Regions from separate parts of the Homo sapiens genome. Here region 2 is linked to region 1. The links are contacts of gene promoters, found by promoter capture Hi-C in blood cells and fetal thymus (Javierre and others, 2016). All regions are on one chromosome and are shown on one strand. The core of a region is centred on a gene start or on the middle of the fragment in contact, and the rest is flanking DNA. Distances in the headings are between cores, read along the strand shown. Region 1 holds the start of PSMD14-DT (PSMD14 divergent transcript). Region 2 overlaps FAP (fibroblast activation protein alpha).

The links. Contacts are between HindIII fragments. The CHiCAGO score rates a contact against its expected background, and 5 or more counts as called.
Region 2: a contact is called between a fragment that was not itself captured here and the fragment with the promoter of PSMD14-DT in region 1, in 8 of 17 cell types (fetal thymus, M1 macrophages, naive CD8 T cells and 5 more). The highest score is 11.3, in fetal thymus.

The regions. Positions count from the first base shown.
Region 1 is chr2:161,250,421-161,257,197 of GRCh38, reverse strand. It overlaps PSMD14-DT (PSMD14 divergent transcript), which reads left to right and starts at 2,555. Exons shown (of 4, transcript NR_110593.1): 1 at 2,555-2,613; 2 at 5,976-6,202. The HindIII fragment of the contact is 9,629 bases long and covers 1-5,293 here.
Region 2 is chr2:162,182,199-162,188,975 of GRCh38, reverse strand. FAP (fibroblast activation protein alpha) reads left to right here. Exons shown (of 26, transcript NM_004460.5): 20 at 613-807; 21 at 5,508-5,562. Among named protein-coding and RNA genes, the nearest start is that of GCG, 33 kb to the right of the region's middle. RefSeq lists an enhancer at 4,015-4,184. The HindIII fragment of the contact is 3,463 bases long and covers 1-3,268 here.

The DNA of each region.
Region 1 (6,777 bases), core at 1,306-3,805:
AGAGATATAAATGAAAAATATGAAAAGATAAAGATAATATAATTAGAATAAAATACTGAATTTTTTCTTACTAATCTTGTAAAGAATGTCTAAGAGTGATACCAAAGTCATTAATTGGAATACATAAAAACTTTGTATGACAAAAATGGCATAAACAAGGTAAAAAGACTAAAGACATACTAAAAAAATACACATCACAAACAAAAAATTAATATTTGTAATCCTAGAGAGGTGCTTACAAGTCAATAATAATAAGAGGTATACTCCAGAAGAACAGCAGGAATAAGATAATAGGCCATAGACGCATGGAAACAAGATAAACCTCATTACTTATCAAATTCTGGAAATTAAAAGAAACAATAAAATAAAATTTCCCATCTATTGGAATGTAAATGATTTTTAAGATTATATTAACACCTGATATATTCTGAGACTTTGCGGAGTTTGAAAATTAAAAAAAAGAGAGAGAGAAGAAAAACCAATGTAGAAATGTCTTGAGAGCAAAATGACTGTGACCTCTTTTGGAGGACAGTTCAGCAATAACACATATTTTAATTTTAAGAAAAAATATTTAATTTTAACACGAAAGTCTTAAAATTATGCAGACTCATTGAGCATTTACATTTCTTAAGGAATAATCTTGTCAAATGTGAAAAGATGTATTACAATATTCAAAGTAAAAAAAGTTGAAACTACCTAAATGTTAATCAACAGGGGATTGATCAAATAAATTATGGAACATCCATAAAATAAAATGTACGTTTCAACAATAGCCATTAAGAATTATGAAGATCTGTATGGACATTAAAAGACAGCAGTGATTATATATTAAGAGAAAAAAAGGAGGCTATAAAACTGTATGTACAGTGTGATCACTTTTATAAATATGTGAAATATATGTTAATGTAATTAATTCTTGATGAATAGGCAAAATACTATTTATGGTAGTTTTATCTGGATGATAGGTTTATGGTTGATCTTCATATAAGAAAATACTTTTTGTCTATAGTATTGAATGCTTTCTACAATGATAATATATAGTCAGAAATAAAAGCAAAACACTTTCCTTTTAGAAATGAAAAAAATACAAGCAATATCTTCTGCAAATATGGAAAAAGTCTATAGGACTCAAAATGGGTGATATCTATTGTTTACTCCTTGTCTAGGTTCTCATAAATTATTCATGGAAATCCTATCGTACTAATAATTATTTTTCCTTCATTACTCCTTTGCATTCCTTTTCAGAGAGTGACAGGTATTATACTCTGCAGGCATTTATATTATAGAGTATTCTTTATAATAGATATTTTCTTAAGCCATGTTTACATGATTCAAAAAAAATCACATAAATAAAAAACAGTTACATTGGCTAAATTAGAGTATTTCTACACAAACCAATAATTTTAGCTTGAACTTGAACTGACCAACTTGAATGGACCAATTACTTTAGGATTATTTTTAAGATTAAAGTAAAGAAAATTATGAAAATCAACAGTTTCCTTCAGTTATTTAGAGGAAAAAATAATTACAAAAAAGTCTTCAATGAGACAAATTAATTTTACAAAAAATAGCAATTAGGCAATTGATATAATATTATATATATCTATCAATCTGTAGATAGAGATACAGATATAAAAAACCCAGGGATACACTAATAAACTACAGAACTTGTGTAGGACCCATATGAAGAAATTACAAAATTTTCAAAGGATCATTAAAATTTTTGAAAACTTTCTATGTGAGTAAATATTTTAAAGCTGTCCCATCATTTATAAATTTAATGTAATTCAGCGTAGGATTTCCAATAAATTTTTAAAATTAGCTATGACATTAAATTTCTTTTAATTGGGCAGCCTCTGAATCAGAATAGGTCTAGAGAGAGTCCTAAAATTTTTTTATTATGAAAATAATATGGGCTTCTCCTGAAAAATTCAGGCCATGCAGAAGGTGTTAAATGAAAAATATTGTCCTTGGCCTACATCCTAACTCCTCAATCCAACTCCCCAGGGGTAAATCATTGTAAATAGCTTTAAAAAAATTGTGGTAGGGCCAGGCAAGGTGGCTCACGCTTGTAATCCCAGCACTTTGGGAGGTCGAGGCGGGCAGATCACGAGGTCAGGAGTTAGAGACGAGCCTGACCAACATGGTGAAACCCCGTCTCTACTAAAAATAAAAAAATCAGCCGGGCATGGTGGCGTGTGCATGTAATCCCAGCTACTCAGGAGGCTGAGGCAGGAGAATCGCTTGAACCCAGGAGGCAGAGGTTGCAGTGAGCCGAGATTGCGCCACTGCACTCCAGCCTGGGTGACAGAGCGAGACTCTGCGTCAAAAAAAACAATTGTGGTAAATAAAACATATTGTTTTAAACATTTTTAAGTGTACAGTTCAGTAGCATTAGGTACATTCACATTGTTGTGCAACTATCACCACCATCCATCTCCAGACTGTTTGCATCTTGCAAAACTGAGACTCCCCTGTACACCTTTAACAACAACCCCCATTGTCCCCTTCCCTCAGCTCCTGGCAACCACCATTCTACTTGATGCCTCTATGAATCTGACTACTCTAGGTACCTCAGATGAGTGGAATTATGCAGTATTTGTCCTTTTGTGTGTAAGTAGCTTTTTAATAATCTTTTTCAAATATTTTTTTCAAAGACATTTACCAAAATTTTATGACTAATGCTTGTTCATAGTAGAAAATCCAAACTACCTAAGAAGTTTCTTTATAGTAAAGAGCAAAATTTCCTCTTCTCCACAATGTCCATTCCCATTAACCAAAGCTAACCATTGTTAATACTTTTTTTGGCCAATCTTCCAGAATGTTTATATGTATCAATAAGGAACAGCCTCACATACACATGGGCCTGCACACACACTTCTATGCTTTTTCTGACTTTTTTAATTTTAAGAAGGCTAATATATATATTGTTGTACAATTTGCTTTCTTCACTTAATATATCTTGAGTATTTTTTCACAGCAAAACATATGTTCTTAAGTGAATCTTTTTTTAACTTAATAATGTAATTCAGAATAATATGAACGAATAGTCAAGAATGACAAAGAAAATTTTGGAAAGGAAAACTACTGAAGGACTTGCAATACTAGATATAAGACTGTATTATTTAAATATTGTGATAAAGGTAGAAAAATAGAGAAATCAGTGGAGTGGAAATTAATCTCAAGAGAGGTCTCTAGAAGATAAAACCTTTCAGCTAAATTCAAAAATCTTAAAATCAGTAGGAAAAAACTATATTATTCAATAAACTTGCAGGGACAAGCTGAAAAACAAGAATCCAATCCTCTCCTCACATGATAAACCAAAATAAATTGCAGACATATTAAAGCACTAAATGCATAAAATGAAAACAAAAAAAAATCATCAAATATGTAGGAGAAAACAAAAGTGAATATTTTAGCAGGTGGTCATGCGTGCCTGTAGTCCCAGCTCCTCTGAAGGCTGAGGCTGGAGGATCACTTGAGCCCAAGAGGTTGAGGCTCCAGTGAGCCATGATCGTCCCACTGCACTGCAGCCTGGGCGATAGAGCAAGATCCTGTCTGAATAAAAAAATAAAGAAGTCAATAAAAAATAATAAAAGTGAATATTTATCTAACCTTTTGTGAGGAAGATTTTCCTTTTTTTCTTCAGAGATGGAGTCTCACTCTGTCGCCCAGGCCTCCGCCTCCTGGGTTCAAGTGATTCTCCTGCCTCAGCCTCCTAAGTAGCTGAGACTATAGGCATGTGCCACCATGCCTGGCTAATTTTTGTATTTTTTATTAGAGACGGGGTTTCACCATGCTGGCCAGGCTGGTCTCGAACTCCTGACCTCGTGATCCACCCACCCCAGCTTCCCAAAGTGCTGGGATCACAGGCATGAGCCACCGCGCCCGGCCATGAGGAAGATTTTCTACAAGTAAAGGTAGAAATGTTAATGAAAACACTTGAGAAATTGACAATTTAAAAGTGAAAAAGTCAATAACAAAATATGATAAAGTTTAGCTTAGAAAGATCCTTGTAAAATGTATGGCATAGTGTTACTATGGCAATTTTACATAAACACCTTTCTTTATAAAAAATAAAAAAAATACAAACACCCCAACAGAAAAAATGGGTGTTGTATAGGAATAAGTACACTATAAAGCAATATTATAAATGGCAAACAATATATGAAATTTAAAATTTTTCAAGTAAGCAAAATAACTAAAAGTAAAAACAATTATTTTTTCAAACATCAAATTCGAGACCATTAAAAACCTGTTAACATTTAGTGTTGGTGAAGATTAGGATAAACAGACATTCTCATGTACTTCCATTTTGGAAGGCACTTTAGTCTACGTATCAAAACTCATAAAAAAATCCTTTTTGACCCTAAAATTCCCCTTTTAGAAATTTATCTGGAGGAAGTAATTATAAATGTATGCAAATATTTGTCCACAGAGATGTTCACATAACATTGTTTATGATATAGAAAAATTAGCAATTATTGGCCGGGCATGGTGGCTCACGCCTGTAATCCCAGCACTTTGGGAGGCCTAGGTGGGTGGATCATTTGAGGTCAAGAGTTCGAGACCACCCTGGCCAACATAGTGAAACCCCATCTCTACTAAAATATACAAAAATTAGCCGGGCATGGTGGCACATGCCTATAGTCCCAGCTACTCAGGAGGTTGAGGCAGGAGAATCGCTTGAACCCAGGAGGTGGAAGCTGCAGTGAGACGAGATTGTACCACTGCACTCCAGCCTGGGTGACAGAGTGAGACTCTATCTCAAAAAAAGGAAAAATTAGCAATTACCAAATACATAGTGTTAGAGAACTTGTTAGACAAACTATGGTGCATTTATACTATGGAATACTATAGTTAGTATTTAATGACATGGGAAAATGTGATATATTTTAAGGGAAGTGTCACTCATCAATGAGTAATGTCATATATCCTAATTATTTTTAATACTTACTAGTGCATAAAAATATGTATAAGAGGCCAGGCACAGTGGCTCACGCCTGTAATCCCAGCCCTTTTGGAGGCCGAGGCGGGCGCATCACGAGGTCAGGAGATTGAGACCATCCTTCCTAACATAGTGAAACCCCGTCTCTACTAAAAATACAAAAAATTAGCCGGGCGTGGTGGCACGCGGCTGTACACAATGAACATGTATTACTTTTGTAATCGGAAATAATGTTATAAAAATGAAATACTTTTAAAAAGCATTTATGATACAGATATTGTTATTTATGTTTTTCCTCAAGTGATTAGTTGCTCTGCCTTATTTTGGCCAAGTTCCAGGTAAGCTTCTGGGCACTTTATTGAAAAAAATAAATCAAGTAAATCATTAGACTAAAATTATATATTGATTTTGCAAAAGTAGCAGTATTTTGCTGGACAAAGTCACAGAGCTAAAATATATGATATTTTCATTTTTAACAATGAAACGACTATTATAATTAAAAGAATTCAGTTTGCATTATATGCCTTTAAATAAAGATTAAATGGACCCCTGACACACCAAATTAATATGTAATCCAGTTTCATTTTTTAACTAATGGAAACACAAATTAGTATAATTTTATAATTTAATACTCAGCAATAGATCATTTTTTAAAATAGAAGAAATTAAACATTTTTCCACATACCATCCTTAGGGAACAAGGCATATCATAAGATATGACAAATAAGCTTCTAGGAAAAGTCTTCATTTGTTCTTTCCAGAAAATGTGAATTTGCTAATTTGGTGACAAATATATGTATACATATTATATGTAATAAAATTATACTGAAAATAAAATCAATGAAATATTGAAATTTTAAGTGCAAAGCATCTGGTTAAAACTGCCTACTCTTGCTTATATATCCTTTTTTATTTGCTATTTATATTAGCAAAATGAACTTAACATAATGCCTCAAATAGTTAATGAATATAAAGCTTTAAAACAGTAAATATGTATTGTACATGATCTTTTGGAATCTGATTTCAGGTACAACTAATTTGACAGGCAGTATGATAAGGAACAATCTGAATGACACGTAAACAGGAGGGGGTAAATTCCAAGCACAGCCTGAATGAGAAGTACAACTCATTTCCTGTAACCTAGATGCCTTTTTAACACATCTATGCAGTCTCCATGTGAAACCAGGTGCTGTTCCCAAAGGAGAAAACACTGCCCTCCAGTGGTCTTCAATGAAGAAATGGAAATAGTTTCAGGTACCATGATAGCAGCATTTACATGAAACATGGTATATTTATCTAGTCTCATTTTTGGCTGTATTTCTTAAGCTGAAACACGTCTACAACTGAGCATAAGGACAAAATTTCCAAGATAAATTCTAATAGGTAGGTAGTTACTCCAGTTAGATAGACATATTAACAAGGAGGATTATGACTTTCTAACCCCAAAAGCTGACCATTTATTCGACTATCAAAATTGGATTATGTTAGCCACCTATAGTTTCTCACTTTCCAGATAAGAAAGAAGATATTTCATCTCTGTGTTTCCCTTGTTGGCCAATTTTTTAGCTAAAAGACATTTAAAATTGTACAGCAGGCAGAACCCCAGGGGACTGAACAGTGTTCCAACATCCTTAAAGGCTTCCCATCACTTGAAAAACCAAATTCTTCCTCCTGTTTCTTAAACTAACCAAAGTAGGCAAAAGCAATTTTTAAAAGTCTTTGTGTCTAGCATTGGAACTTTCTCATATTTCACACCATTATATAAATGTCACTCTAACCTATATGTATCACAAATGCTACGCTAAATTAGGGCCAAATTTGCAACCTAG
Region 2 (6,777 bases), core at 288-2,787, 930 kb before region 1:
TTCAACTAATCAGAGTAAATAAAATATGGCTATTTAAAATAGATTGAGGAAGTTTTGAGATTTTAGCTGGACTTGCTTGCATTTGCTGTGTTAAATTTCCTTTGTATGGCAATTTGCCGAATGTGTCAGAATACCTTTGAGATAGAGAAATTGCAGCCAAAAAAAATATTGTAAATCATCTTCACATCTTATGTAATTGAGTTAGAAATGAAATAAAGGAATAGAATACATTTAGTGGAATCACACCCAAAATCAGTGCTGACCTACACACAATTTGCTTAAAACACCATGCATTTTTTTTAGTATATCTTATGTCTGCTTTTAGCAAGTGGCAGGTGGCAGAAATGACGAAAAACCCACACATATTCCTTGAAATGCCAACCCTAGATGTATCCGTTTTGGGGAATAGGAGAGGCTGTGTCCCAAAACAACTTCCTTGTAGCAAACCTCTGGGAAAAGCCTGGACTCCTCTTGATTTTGAGCCAGTTCTAACGCCATTGTTATTTTATCACATAATTGTACTGGAATTACTAGAAGCAATGCTTGGCCAGGATGGGAAATTGAGTTTTACAAAGCAATCAAAGATTCTTGTTTTTTTTGTTTTTCCTTTAGGTATGGTGGTCCCTGCAGTCAGAGTGTAAGGTCTGTATTTGCTGTTAATTGGATATCTTATCTTGCAAGTAAGGAAGGGATGGTCATTGCCTTGGTGGATGGTCGAGGAACAGCTTTCCAAGGTGACAAACTCCTCTATGCAGTGTATCGAAAGCTGGGTGTTTATGAAGTTGAAGACCAGATTACAGCTGTCAGGTGAGCACCTTCTCATTCAAGCAGATGTCAACATGCAACAAAAGTCATGCAATCACTATTGTGTTTCTCCATTCTTCATGACTTAATTCTTTTGTTTTTCTTTTTCTAACTTGGTCTAAAACTATCACTAATCTTAAAGAGGTATTTCTGCCAAATATGAAAAAAAAGTATTTATGGAAGAGAGCTAACGAATGTGTAGAAAAATGATTTCAAGTGCTAAATGACAAATACCCTCTTTTGATGTGTTGTCATTCATTCCAATATCTTTTAATTTAGTTCCATTTCTTACAATTGATAGAAAAACTTTGAACTCTAATGATGATCTTCAGGAAAACAAATATCTGAATTTGCTCAAGCATTGTGGATTCTGCCTCTTAAGTTTAGAAATGGCTCAAGATTTTATCAGCACTACATACTTTTAGATGTTAGGCCTTCATTTGTGGTTAAACTAGCTATCAGTCGGCCATGGTAGCATGAAAGTGTTTGCCTATTTTCGTTTGACAAAAACATAGTCATTTTACACAACAGAAATTATATTATGAAAACATTTAGGGAAAACACAGATTCATAATCTGATTTCTTCTTCTCAACTATATATATTTTCAACCATGATTTATGGTTCAATCATCTTTTCCTGAAACAGGACTATATAGGCACCAAAATTGTGGCTTTTTTAGAAACACTGTGCAAATAATTCTTGCCATGTCTCTATAGTTGTTGGGTTTCATTATTATGTTATGAATAGGTGAAGCTAAGAATAATAGTTCGTAAATTTAAAAGGTAGCAGGCTAATTGCACTCTCAGTCGTGAATATATGTGCATGTGAGGAGCTAAAGGTCAAACACTGTTTCACAGGCAAAGAGAAATTTAGAAATTTCTTTAGTACATTTTTTATCCCCTTAATGTTATTAATACTTAATGATTTCACTGCAACATGCAGAATAAAGATTGTATTTAACAGCCTGGAGCCAGGCCTAGACAACACTTTTCTATATTTTTGTCTCTAATCAAAGCAGAAGAGTTTAGACTCACAAGTAATTATTTTTAAAAATAGAAAGGTGTCCATAACCCATACATTTTCAAGTGCTTCTTTCATTCTGGGAACAAACAAAATGTTCAATTAAAAAAAAAGTCTATCTGAGTACAATACGACAAATTAGTAAGTAGGTTACTAACACTAAAATCTGTAGCTATCACTCAATTTCTGGAAGCTCCCTCTTTCTTATGGACTCAGACTTTTGGCCTTTCAACTATTCACTTGTTTGGAGGAGATAGTTCAAAGAAAAACCCCACTGAGACATCAGTTTCTCCTATAAAGACTGTAGTGTGCCTTAATGAGAATATTAACGCCATCCTCAGAATTATAGCTTAATTCCATGGGGGACTTTTTTTAGCACCATGGCTCACATCTATTTGCATTTAAACCATGCAATAAACATCAAGGACATGTAATCCTGGGACTACATGAAAACAGAGATGAAAATTATGCCTCATTTATAATTTATTTAGATCTTTTCCAAAGCTGAAAGAGCTAAAAAGTTGTTTATTTTGGCATTGGTTAAAAAATCATTGTCTTCATCATCGTCATCATCGCAACCCACCAGTAACAACAAAATATGTCATTATACTTTTATGGGTTTATTTACCACCACAGATGCACCATTTGAACCTAAGAAGAAATAGCTTCTTAATATTTTCCTTGGATGAAATGAAAATTTAAACCTGAGCCATGATATTCAACATACAGGACACAAAGCCATAAATTCTACCTTCTACTGATTTTCGCAGTAATACCAATTTGTCTTTGGCATTTAGAATTGAAGATGGACTAGAGGTGGTAATTGGATACCTCTACTTTCTCTGAGCCATTTTTAGGATGGAATCTGAAGAAAGTCTTCCTGCTATAGGGAAAACATATGTTCACCCATATACTCAGCCATTCAACAACATAGCAAATATTAATATTAATACATGCCATTGCAGTACACTCTGTATAAAATTGTGCAATTTGCAATTTCTGTTTTCAGTGTGCTTGCAATCTGGTAAAAGTAAATAAGCCACCTACACTCTGAAGGGACAAAATTGTTGTTAGATCAAACTTTTAGTAAACACCCCAGAGAATATGGGCAGCTGCGTGGCCCCATGCAAAGTCTATAAACAACAGTGGAGATGACAGCCAGAGCTGGCCTTGGTTTTTGCTTGAAATTGTTCTTATGCAACTGTGAAAAGGAAGCCTTATAATCCAATGCTTTGAGAAAACAAAAGCTAAATAGGATAGACTCAGAATAATAATCCTAGGGATGATTCAATATACCTCCTAAGGAAGTGTTTTAGGAATCAGACACTAAATGCCTGACCTGGGGAATTGAGATTATAATACTTCTACTGTAGCCCTTAAATTGCCTCTCAGAGAATAAAATTTCTCCCCTGAATCTTTTACAAAATGCAATCTGGCTAAGCTTTTGACATACCAAAAGAAAATCGTACGTACATATTTGGAAACAACAGTAAATACTACTCAAGGCCAACAAATAGATTTAAACAAAGCAAAGTAGGGGAAAAAAAGAAGTCATATCGTCTTATAACTTCTATCTATGTGAAAGAAAATGCGTCAGAAGAGATGTTTGTGAAGCTACAGACATAAGGGAGACTGGAACCCGCTTTCTTTAGGTGTCTCTTCAAATGGTACATATGTGAGACCCTTAAAACTTTGGTGGTTATAAGGGCAACTTTGCTCATTTGGAGTATATTTGGCACTTTTGATATTCCCACAACTTTAAAATTTGATATAACTTGAGGGTTAGTGGTGGGGAAGAATTACATGAGATGAAATTTTCTATCATGCTTTTATAGATGGCATGAATAAGAATATTTCTAAAATAGGATAATAATTGATCGCTATGATTCCAAGTTTACCTTGGCCTTGGGCCAACTTTATGAGAGAAAAGTTATAAAGTTCAATCCAGACTCCAAGATTAGAAAAACATCCTTTTCATTTGTTACTGACATTTTGTTGATATAACCACATTATCAACAGTATTTACAACCCTCTGGGAAACTCTTCAGAATTTGAAGGTGAATTTTATAGTGCCTCGTTGGTCTGGAAGTGCTAAGATTATCTAGCTAACCTTTAACCTAGTCCTGCAACATTCAGTGTTAATGTTTCATTTCCATGTTAACTATTGCACTATCATTTCCTGTAAATGTCATCCTTTCAGAATAAACCTAGGAAGAGAGCTGTTAAGAGTTTCCTGTTCCCATGTATCACCTGTTATTTGCTCTTTACCCCAGATGTAAGGTAGTATGATTGTTGGCTTCTGGGAGATCATAAAATCACAATTGATTTTATGGCTCAGAACTGTCTTCAAGCACCAGTAGCAAGGTTATTTTTTTTTTAACAAGAAAGTGAACCTTCTCTTCTTTCATTTGATTTTTGAAGTTTGTGCAAGAATTGCTCAAGTGTCACAATTTGCTGCACATTTTCTCCTCTATACCATGAGCAGCATCCACACAGGTAGCAACTTTCCATTTGCTACTGCATTTCTTCTCTGTAGACTCCTCAGTGTCCTTCAGAATCAGTGTCGGGTAAGCTGTGACTAACGGGGCCTCTTCCCATCTGTTTGTCCCGGGCATTTGCCCAACTTCTCTATGCATCGGAAACGTGCATGTTGAATCAATGCAAGAGCGAAATGGTTGCTGTGAAATCCCTTTAAGAAACTACATTATTCAAGTAATGAAAATCACTCAGTTCTACTTCCAGAGAAGAACTGATGAGAAAGGTCTTTAACAGTAATTGAATGGAACAAGAAGATAGTATTTTTCTGGGACTGTGTGTCTCCTTTGGTCTTCTCCCCTCCTTCCTGTCACTGTTGCATACGGTGGTTTCTGCAATGGCTGATCCAGTTTGCCACATTCCACTCCGGCTGCTGTTTCTCTGAGATTTTCTTGAGTTTTTATCAAACCAATCCCCAGATAAATCACAATTGCTCTAGAACACCAGCCCTCAGGGTAACATGTTAGAAATTAGCTTGAAACCCTCAATTTTGAGGGTTTCCCATGACTTTTTAAACGTTGTCCTTCAGTGTAGCCCCTTGCTCCTAAGGAAAGATTTATTTTCAAAATAGTTTTCAAATGGATGCTCTTCTGTGATGGAGCTAAAAAGGAATTATTTCCATATTAATTAATGATGAATTGAGGATGCCTAAGTATGAAATGGAAGACGGTTGTATATTTCTCTCAAATGTCTCTGAAAATGAAGTGATGATTATCATTAACAACAATGTGATAAGAAATTAATATAATTTAAAGCAGCAAGAACAAAATCCTTCTTTCCGATAGCTGGGGATTTGGAAACTTGGTCCTGCTCAATGCTGCTGCTACTTCTTGTGTCACTATGAACCCATCTTTTGGCCTCTCTGAGTCTCAGGTACACCCCCACGATTAGACTACAAGGCCTTATACCGCTCTGACATTACCAGTCAATAACTGTACAACAGAGTCTAAGGGAATCCTTTTATCTCTTTGCAGAAAACATGATAATATTATTTTAATTATTTGTAAATGCAGGCTTATTATGCATGTGTTTAAACAAAGAAAATGTAGCGTTTCTATTAAATCTTTGGATTAAATATGGTTGTGTAATGAAGTAAATGTCATGTGTATACACTTAACATTCTAAAAATTTGTTTCTTTTACTTTAGAAAATTCATAGAAATGGGTTTCATTGATGAAAAAAGAATAGCCATATGGGGCTGGGTGAGTTGTTTTATATTTTTTATGCCTGTTATTCAGTTCAGCAATCATCATTTTCTGAAGTGTTCGTTTAGAAGGTTTCTCATGAAATGTTAATGTTGCAACATAATTTAATCTGTCAATGGAAACAGTCAGTTTGGATAATCTGGGCTTCAAAATGGTGGTTTTAAGTGTTTGTTCCTTTTTTTCAATCTTTTCTTCCCTGTACAGTAAGTTAACTCATAATTGACATATTTTTACTTAAGTCTTTGTTACTAGATTATAGCATACTGAACTGAACCATATCCGTCAGAGGGTGAATTGCCTTTGTTATTTTAAAGTTAAATATATACCTTTTATTTTATATTTCTATTTTATAAAAATTGGAGCTACAATTTGAAATCACAGGGACTTTCAGAATATAAATTCCTTAGTACCTAGCCTAGCAGTCATATCTTAGCTGTTTAATTTTGTTTCTTTTTATTTGGCAATCAAATTATTTTAGTAGACCGAATGTTCGTTTGTGCTAACTGGAGAAAAGTACTATTTAGTTTCCTAATTATAGGTCATGGAGATAACTTCTCACACTTGAGGAGCTATTTTGAAAATACACATTTAAAGAAAGTGGCAAAACTTATCGTTTATGGGCAATGAAGTCACTGGAAAGTTTAGAGAAATATTGGAAAGAGTTGAGATTTGCCCATTATAAATTATGATAATTACCCTTCAAAGAAGATTTCCTGTTTCACTTTTTGGTCTGAATTTGTACATTTGCAAGTCAATTTGCAGCCATTTGTGCCTGGGTTGTTTTTCTTGGCTGTTTTCTCTGAGAGCGGCCTGCACGAGAAGAAGGGAATGAAACCCAATATTGAAGGGAATCTGCAAGATTCAGCTCCACTCAGCTCAGTGACCAGATGAAGAGCTGTTAGGAATTTGAAGAAAGTTGTTACTTCAAGCCATTTGGTCCTTCTTAAAACTATCAAATGTTAAATATCTAAACAGAATGAAATTCAAATGAGTAGAAATAAATGAAATATTTCTATAGTGAAATATTCCAGATAATACCTTCCCTATCATCCATTTTTATAAAGTTTCCTAAAGCAAATCCTTGAAAGATTCTAATTTTAAGTTGAACATGTACATGTAATCATTAACATTTCTCTTAGAGTTGGACTTTGCTTTTGCTGCAGGCTTTGAAATAACCATAAAGTAGAACTTTTTATTTTATTTATAGAACAT